Regions from separate parts of the Homo sapiens genome. Here region 1 is linked to region 2. Evidence: promoter capture Hi-C in 16 types of primary human blood cells and fetal thymus (Javierre and others, 2016). All regions are on one chromosome and are shown on one strand. The core of a region is centred on a gene start or on the middle of the fragment in contact, and the rest is flanking DNA. Distances in the headings are between cores, read along the strand shown. Region 1 has its middle 190 kb from the start of DAB1-AS1. Region 2 holds the start of C8A (complement C8 alpha chain).

Region 1 (4,875 bases), core at 2,208-4,707, 1.2 Mb before region 2:
TGAGAAGCCATTTTGAGCAATAGGGAACGCTCACGGACTGTGTGGTCCTGAGAGATCCAAACACCAAGTGCTCCGGGGGCTTTGGGTTTGTCACATATGCCACTGTGGAGGAGGTGGATGCAGCCACAAATGCAAGGCCACACAAGGTGGGTGGAAGAGTTGTGGAAACAGAGAGCTGTCTCAAGAGAAGATTCCCAAAGACCAGGTGCCCACTTAACTGTGAAAAAGGTATTTGTTGGTGGTTTTAAAGAAGACACTGAAGAACATCACCTAAGAGATTATTTTTAACAGTTGGAAAAATGGAAGTGATTGAAATCATGACTGACTGAGGCAGTGGCAAAGAAAAAGGGGCTTTGCCTTTGTAACCTTTGACAACCATGATTCCGTGGATAAGACTGTCATTCAGAAATACTATACTGTGAATGGCCACAACTGTGAAGTTAGGAAAGCCCTGTCAAAGCAAGAGATGGCTAGTGTTTCATCCAGCCAAAGAGGTGAAGTGGTTCTGGAAACTTTGGTGGTGGTCGTGGAGGTGGTTTCAGTGGGAATGACAACTTTGGTTGTGGAGGAAACTTTAGTGGTCATGGTGGCTTTGGTGGCAGCTGTGATGTCAGTGGATATGGTGGCAGTGGGGATGGTTATAATGGGTTTGGCAATTATGGTGGTTATGGAGGAAGTGGCCCTGGTTACTCTGGAGGAAGCAGAGGCTATGGAAGTGGTGGACAGGGTTATGGAAACCAGGGCAGTGGCTATGGCGGGAGTGGCAGCTATGACAGCTATAACAATAGAGGTGGAGGTAGCTTTGGCAGTGGCAGTGGAAGCAGTTTTGGAGGTGGTGGAAGCTACAGTGATTTGGGCAATTAAAACAATCAGTTTTCAAATTTTGGACCCATGAAGGGGGGAGATTTTGGAGGCAGAAGCTCTGGCCCCTATGGCGGTGGAGGCCAATACTTTGCCAAACTGTGAAACCAAGGTGGCTATGGCGGTTCCAGTAGCAGCAGTAGCTGTGGCAGTGGCAGAAGATTTTAATTAGGAAACAAAGCTTAGCAGGAGAGAAGAGCCAGAGAAGTGACAGGGAAGCTATAGGTTACAACAGATTTGTGAACTCAGCCAAACACAGTGGTGGCAGGGCCTAGCTGCTGCAAAGAAGACATGTTTTAGACAAATACTCATGTATATGGGCAAAAAACTTGAGGACTATATTTGTGACTAATTGTATAACAGGTTATTTTAGTTGCTGTTCTGTGGAAAGTGTAAAGCATTCCAACAAAGGGTTTTAATGTAGATTTTTTTTTGCACCCATGCTGTTGATTGCTAAATGTAATAGTCTGATCGTGATGCTGAATAAATGCCTTAAAAAAAGTAGTTCAGGTTATTTATGTTTCCTTTTTCTTGGATGCCGGATAAACAGTTGTTGACTGGACTTTCAACTCAGGCAGAGAGATGATCTAGTTAAGTTCCTGGCCTGAGAGAGTGTCAATAGAAGAGCCCATATTTCTCACATGTATGGAATTGCGTGAAGATCTTTCATTTATTCTACTCTGCTGTAATTCAATGTGATTACTTTGACTAGTGAATGAGAGGTGGCTCTTTAACCATAAACAAGCGAATGGGTTAAAAAAAATCAAAATTAGTATCTATGCTTTCAATGAGAGGAGTGAAGGGGCTATGATAAAGATTAGTAGGACACAGGGGCTGGTGGCTTCATTGCACCCACACCCCTCATTTGTGAGATGCCACTCACCTGTACATCCACCAGAGGGCAGCAGCAGCAGCGAAGGCCCACCTCCCTGGTGCCACACTTCACACCACACTGTCCAACCACACGTGGCTATTGGGCACCTGAAATGTGGCTAGTGCCACTTGTTGAAATGATAACAGTTTGGATATGTTGAAAGATAACAGTTTAGATATATTGGATTAAAGAAAATATATTATTAAAATTCATTTCACCTGTTTTTTTATTTTACTTAAATGTGGCTAAGTGGCAAATTTAAGGTGACATATGTGGCTTGCATTCATAGCCCATGCTATATTTCTTTTGGGTGAAACTGCTTGACACAATCCATGGCATAATAAAACAGAATTTCCAAAATAACTAAAGTTTGAATCTCATTTTCAGGCTATGTATATATTATACAAATATCATGTCATGGTAAGAATTTGGAGGGATCTTGGAGCTTGTCCTTATTTTACAGCTAAAGAAACTGAGGCTCAAAGAGATGAAGCAACTTTGCCCAAGGTCACACAACCAGTAAGTGGCACGGCTGGGCTTTGAACTTCAGTTTCAAACAAAATCAGTTCTTCTCCACTCAGTGAGTGGCCCAGAAATTGTAGGTATCCCTGGACTTAAAGAGTGTACCTCTGAGAGCTCCCATCCCTCTATCCCCAGCACCAGTGGCTGGCACATGGCAGGAGCTCTGTTCTACAGCATCCAGTCTGTGTGAGATGCTTTGTTTACTGCACCACACAAAGGATACCAAGACAAGTGCTGCTCAGGCTCTGTTCTCTGGAAGCTCATGGCATAGTAGAGAAGATACCAGATGGACAGTAACCAATTAAAATTGTAAAACAAGTTCTAGCTAAGTACCTTGAAACTAATGTGGAAATGTGTTCAACCTCATTAGTAATTTAAAAAATGCAAATAAAAATAATGATATGACATTGTACTTTACTCACATCCTTCCTAGTTTCAGAGGGCCTTAAAGTAGTTCATAATCCTACCTTCGAAAAAAAAATCAACAGAAAATAAAATCAACAACAAAAAAAGAAGTTCTTCTTTATGTAAATGTGTTCTATGGGAGGGACAAGATGTCACCCAAGTAAATGATTTGGACGATATAAACATTTCAATTGCCGTGATGTCCTTTGCCTCAGTTTGCTTAGCTTTGAGAAAAGAAGTTAGTTATAGCCAATTGGATATTTGATATACACTAGGAAAAATATTTATCTTTATTTAGTTTAAGAAAATCCAGAATTCCCAGGCTTTTCTTCAGTATCAAAATGGAAAACTTACTTAACAGAAGAAACCAAAACTTATTCTGTCTCTGGTATCTACCACAGGACTTTACATATATCATGGACTTAACTCAATAAAGCCTTGCTGAATACAGGAAGGTACCTGCATTTATTCTATGCCAGTTATGTGCCCATATACCTTAACAGGCCTCTTTCTATAAATAAGGTCATTTAATAACCTTAAAACCCTGAAAATTTTAGTCTCCATTTTCAGATAAATAACAGAGGCTCCAAAAAAAAAAAAAAAAAATTGATAATCTTGCCCAAATCCCTAATTACCAGGGAGCAGAGCTGCAATTTGGACCCATAATGTATTTTGTTCCAAAGCTTGCATCTCTATGCTGTGTGAAAGGATAGGAGAATAAATGGAAAAAAAGAGAAGGAACAAAGGGGAAAAAGGGAAAAGAGGCAAAAAGGGAGAGAAAGGAGGCAAGAGAAGGATGGAGATGAAAACAAAGATGCAAGGGAAGAAAGGGGTGAGTGAGTATGGATTTCTACCTCTTTCAGCACATAGTCTAAAAAGAAAGATAAAGAGAAGGGTCAAAGCTTCCCTGGAAAAAAAATATTCCTAGCAATTTGGAGAGACAGTTTTTAAAATGGCAGGTTAGGAATTCATCTACTGTCGAAGGCTTGGCTCTCAGAAGTTCCCCCAGGATGGTTTCTTCTCTTGCCACCTCATTATCGCCGGGAACAATCTGCATGGCCAGTAATGAGAGGATCTTAATGCCGGCAGTCTCAAGAGTGGGTAACAGCCCCGCTCGCGGAGTTGGGGTCACAGGTTCAGGCCTGGATGCTGTGGAGAGAGCTGCGTGAAGCTGCAGACCGTCCCCCTGGACCAGCAGTCCATTAGCCCTTACCCCCTCGGTATGGCAGTAATGAGTAGGTGAGGCCCACTCCACAGCCCCTGCCAGCAGACCCGTCGGAGTGGGGTTGTGGCCTCCCAGTGGCAAGTGCTTCCCGCTGCCAGCCCTGACCAACCTGCTGTCCTTGCAGTGCTGTCGGCCGGCCTGCAGGATAGGGTTTGTCAGGATTCAGGATCCTCTCAAATTCTGCTCCTAACAACAATGCAATTAATTAGGGAGCCAGATAATTTAAGCTTTATATTCATAAACTATAATATTTATATAGATTCCAATTGTATGTTTTCATCTGTAAGCCCATTCTGTATAGTAGAAAAAAACAGATTTTCTAGTCAGAGTTCTAAGCCTAGCATCCCTCTATTAGCTATGTGACCTTGGGCATACTACTTCATTTCTATGAATCGTGGTTTTCTCACATGTCATGAGGAATATTAATAATACCAGCCTTATAGGTTTGTTCAGATTATTATTATATATTTGTTATTAATAACTAACATTGAGTCCTATGTATTGGGTTCTGTGATAAGTGCTTTTATACATATGATTCTGAATCCTCTGAACTCTGCATGTAAATATTACTCTTATCCCTAATCGACAGATATTGAAACAGGGTAAGACTGAGTTAGTACGTGTCAGAACTGGGATCTGAAGTCTGGTCTCTCTGACAACCTTTGTAACCTTAACCACTATGCTATAGTGAAATTATGAATTCAACACCCAGAGTAAAAGCCTGATATGCAGTACATTGTCAATAATTATATTAGTTCTTTCTCCTCTCCTTTTCTCTTTGTCTAATATAACAAGAGACACTCAGAAAACATAAATCTGTCTAGGTATTTCAAACAGGAAAGATTCAATAAAGGAGTTGGTCGCATACAAGATGGAAGAGCTAAGAAGCGAAAAAATGATATTCAGACAAGTCAAAGAGCAGCAGTAGGAGGAAGCCACTGTAACCCCTAGGCTAGAGGAATAGGGAAAAAAGGTGGTACCACCAAAT
Region 2 (4,569 bases), core at 1,704-4,203:
AGAAAAATATAAATCTAAAAGATGGCCCAAAAAAAGAAAAAAATAGAAACAAGGAAGACATGGGACACATAGAAAACAAATTGTAAAATGGTGAACTCAAACCCAAGCATATCAATAATTATATTTGATATAAGTGGTCTAATTACTATAATCAAAAGACAGAGATTGTTAGACTAGCTAAAGCAAGCCTCATCTATGTATGTTCACATGAATTATATTTTTAAATATAGTCATATAAGTTAAAATAAAATAATAGAAAAAGATTTGCCATGCACACACAGATCATAAGAAAGCAAGCATAACTATATGTATTAATAATAAACATAATAGGTTGCAGAACAAGGACCATTGCCAGGGATAATGGAAGCCTTTCATGATAATAAAAGGGTAAATTATCAAGCAGTCAGAATAACTCTAGATGTGTGTGTGTGTGTGTGTGTGTGTGTATTTAATAACAGAGCTTTAAAATACATGGAGCAAAAACTGATAGAACTGTAAGTAGGCAAATCCACAAATACAGTTGGAGATTGCAACATTCTTTTCTCAGTAATCAATAGAACAAGATGAAAACTTGAGTGACATTAACAACCAACTTGACTTAATTGACTTGGAACTACACTGAACAACAGAATAATGCACTTTTTTGAGCATATGGAATATTCACTAAGGTTGATCACACTCTTAGTAAAAAACAAATCCCAATACATTAAAAGAACTGCAATTAAAACTTCTAAGCAAATTAGAAACTTGAAATTAAAAACTTCTAAGCAACACACATAATGAAAGGTGTTATTTGTATAAAATATGTAATAGAGACCCACAGATTTTGAGGCTGAAGATTATAACTTCCTTCCATCACCATTGTTTTAAAATGTTTTTCTCAAATAACACATTTTTAAGATTTTATAATAAGCAACTGTTAAACATGAACTTATAAAATAAATTTGTATAAAATATGTAATAGAGATCCACTGATTTTTAGGCTGAAGATTATAACTTCCTTCCATCACCATTGTTTTAAAATGTTTTTCTCAACAAATTTTTAAGATTTTATAATAAGCAAATGTTAAACATGAACTTATAAAATAAATGTGTACCATTAAAATGTAAAACTATATAATATGTTTTCAATGTTAGGGTTCATGTGAAATTTTATTTTGCAGGGAAAAAGAGTGCTATTACTTAAAAATAAAGTTTAAAATCTCTGACTGATCAGAAAGATCCATGCCAATTGGCATATTATAAATTTGTTTTGTCTGATTATTGTCAACCATCAAGGGAATGGAAATACCAAAAAATAACAATAACAATCACACAGCAGCACTGGTGACAGCTTTCACTGAATGATTACTAGGTAATAGGTAACAGGTATTGATCTAAGTACTTTCATGCATTTAATTTTTGTTCTTACTTTCCTCCCATTGTACAGGTAAGGAAAATGAAGCTTGGAAAAATTAAATAACTTGCCTGAGATCAGACAGCTAGTGAATGTCAGTGCCAGAATTTGAACCTAATAAAATCATTTCACCATGTAGTTTTTCACTTTCAAAGTCAGTGTCAGACACACTGGCATTAGATACAAAGACCTCATGATTTCCTCCTTCAGCACTTTGTAAAGTATTTAATTGGTTCCATTTTGCCTTGACTTGAAATTTGCCCCTTCACTGGTCTGTCTTGTTTGATAAGTTCATCAAACATCAAGACTCTTTGTTCATTTTCAAAAAGGATTACAATGATAAGCTTTTATAATTAAGAATATCTCGGCGGAGATTTCCTTTACACAGTTCTCTTGCCTTTATCTTCTAATTATTACAGATGAATTTTCTGATTTCAAAATTGTATTTCCTTTAAATACAAGTTACAAATTAACTGCTTTTAAAAATGCTTTCCTCCCTTCTGAACTGTTACTTAAAGGAATTCTCACTTGCTCTAGCATTTAAAAGCACTAATGATTCAAAATTGCATCATCTATCAAGAATTAGAATTAAATAATTCTATTTAAAATCTTTAATGTTTGGGAGACAGGGATTGCTTTAAAGCTATCCCGAAGGTGAAATAAAGGACTGCTTAGGCTCCACAAAATACTTAATATTAAGATACCAAAAAAAAAAAACCCATGAAGCAAGCTTGGAAATCTCAAGAAAATAGAATGGGTAAAACACAATGTACATATGAAACTACATCACCTCCCTCTATTATCCCATAGCAAAAGATAAAGTCATTTTTAGAATCAAATGACCCAGCATCTCTATAGTCCTTTGCCTTCCCCACAGTGATTTTGAACACATTATCTAATTTTATCCTCCCCCAAAACTATGAGACAGCACTCTTATGATGCTCTTTTACAGATAAGAAAGTAGGGGTTAAGTTAACTGTTCAGCACCACTCAGGAGAACTGTCATTTATTAAGTGTCTACTATAAGCTGAGTACATTTTATATTCAGGATCTTATTTTATCTACATTAACTCTTATAGAAGAGGTATTATTATTCTCATTTTACAGCTAGGGAAACTAAGGATCAAACCGATGAGATGATTTACCCTGAATTATTCAGCTTCTAAGCATTAGAGCTGTGATTTACACATAGACCAATTTGACTCCAAGTGCACGGTCTTTTCACTGTCCCATCCTCCTCCACAGGAGTAGTAATAACATGAAAAGAGGTTATTTTCCATTCTAACACAGCCTCTGCTGCAAACATAAAAGTGTCTTAGTTCCCCAGCAGGTGATTCCTACGTGCAAGTTTTGCAGAGACATATGGCCCACTTACTGGTTCACCTTCTCCTGTGCAGTTACCCCAGGCTGACAAGTCATCAAAGACAAGATGAAGAAAACAACAGCAAACATCTCAGCCAGAAGCCACCGCACTATATTACCTTGAAGGAATAAAGCTATCTATTCAGGAAATTGGAGTAAAAGATGTCTACAGGCTGGGACCTGTAAGATCTATCTGATGTTGGAAACTCACCCAGATACACATTGATTTGCACAGAACTCACTTGATTCTCTTTCAAATATGGTTAAATAGTAACCAGGGTATTGATTACCTAAATACTCTAAAAGTGTTCCAGGCACCAAAGGCCACTGCCCTTTAGACCTTTTGAAAAACAATATCCGTGTGGTTAAGGAAAGGAAGATATTTAACTAATACCAGCTTAGCAAAGAGGTCTTATTTTCAAAAGGAGGCAAAAACCAAACCAAGATGCAGTTCTAGAATTCCTGGTCTTTTTCAGTGTCTCTTGGAACTTCTGAGGTCAGATCAATCTATTTTGCAAGACTGAAACAAGGCTAATATTGGTATATCAACTCAGACATAAAGCACTCAGAAAAATGTAGGAAATGCTAACCATTACATGAAGGTTCTACTGTACGTTGCCAAACATCTAAATCCTGAAATATATGTGTAATTCAATGGACTTTCCACTTTTCATACAGACATTGGGCATCATTGAGATCCAGGGTATCTGTTTATTGAGGGGGCCAAATGTCTTAAATAGACATCTCCAGAAGCACTCTCTAGAATTATAATGTCAATAAAACCACACATCAGGACTAATGGTGCCATACCTGCCTAAAATCTCTTACTCTTCAAGACATAAATTAAATTAAATTGAGATGGATGGATAGATAGGTAGGTAAATACATAGATGATGGATAGATACACAGACAATAATTTAATGGCTACTATGTGGCAGGCATTTCATATGTCTTATTTAATTTTCATAGCAGGGATATGAGATGGAAATTATTAATTCCATTTAGATGGAATTAATGAAGATGAAGAAATGGAGGCCCAGAGAAAGTAACTAACTTGCCCAAGGTTGTATAGCTGTCTCAATATCCTTGGGAATATTTAGATTCTCTCATTAGCAGGACTGTCCAGTAGTATCATTACTGATCTCAAAGTTAGGAGAAATTTTAATGAATGACTTGTATGCTTAAGAAAATGTGTTTCTGATTTAAATGCGGAGATTTTTTTAAAGGCACCAAATTGTTATCATCTCCCTTTTCTCAGAGATTTTGGTAAACTTGACAGAAGTAAATGTGGATTCTGGGTCCTGGGAAGTCCCCGGAGCCTGTGATTTCTGTGTCTCTCTTTCTCCTACCTCTTTTCATTTTGACTCCTTGGTCCTCTTGGCCTCAGTTCTACCCTACTTTGAAAACCACACTTTCTGTTTGCTCCACAATATTCCAGCGTGACTAGCATTTCATTTTGCTTTCACTGAAGATATGGAGGACAATGGAGGGTATTCTATCTGGACACCCTGGGGCCAGTTCAGGATGGCACATCTGGAGGCCACCTCTTTCTACCAACTTCCATCCTTTCTCATCCGTAGTCAAAGTTCCTGAAACAGATCCACAGAGCCCCCTGGGAAGTGTAGCTCAAGTTCCCCCACTCCTCCCACAGCTTTTCTCATGAGGAGACAACCTCCGCTACAACAGTGTCCTCCACTGGGGGTGATTTTGCCCTCAGGGGATATTTGGCAATGTTCAGAGATATTTATGTTATCACAACTTGGGGAGTTGTGCTACTGGCACCTAGTGCGTAAAGGCCAGGGATGCTGCCA

Evidence for each region. The method cuts DNA at HindIII sites, captures the fragments that hold promoters and counts their contacts. A CHiCAGO score of 5 or more calls a contact.
Region 1: a fragment that was not itself captured here is called in contact with the fragment with the promoter of C8A in region 2 in 4 of 17 cell types (endothelial precursors, total CD4 T cells, total CD8 T cells and 1 more); the score reaches 8.3 in endothelial precursors.

The regions. Positions count from the first base shown.
Region 1 is chr1:58,044,329-58,049,203 of GRCh38, reverse strand. It overlaps a transcript of DAB1 not described here and the pseudogene HNRNPA1P6. Among named protein-coding and RNA genes, the nearest start is that of DAB1-AS1, 190 kb to the right of the region's middle. The HindIII fragment of the contact is 219 bases long and covers 3,348-3,566 here.
Region 2 is chr1:56,853,181-56,857,749 of GRCh38, reverse strand. It overlaps C8A (complement C8 alpha chain), which reads right to left and starts at 2,953. Exons shown (of 11, transcript NM_000562.3): 1 at 2,772-2,953. The coding sequence starts at 2,848. The HindIII fragment of the contact is 2,741 bases long and covers 2,129-4,569 here.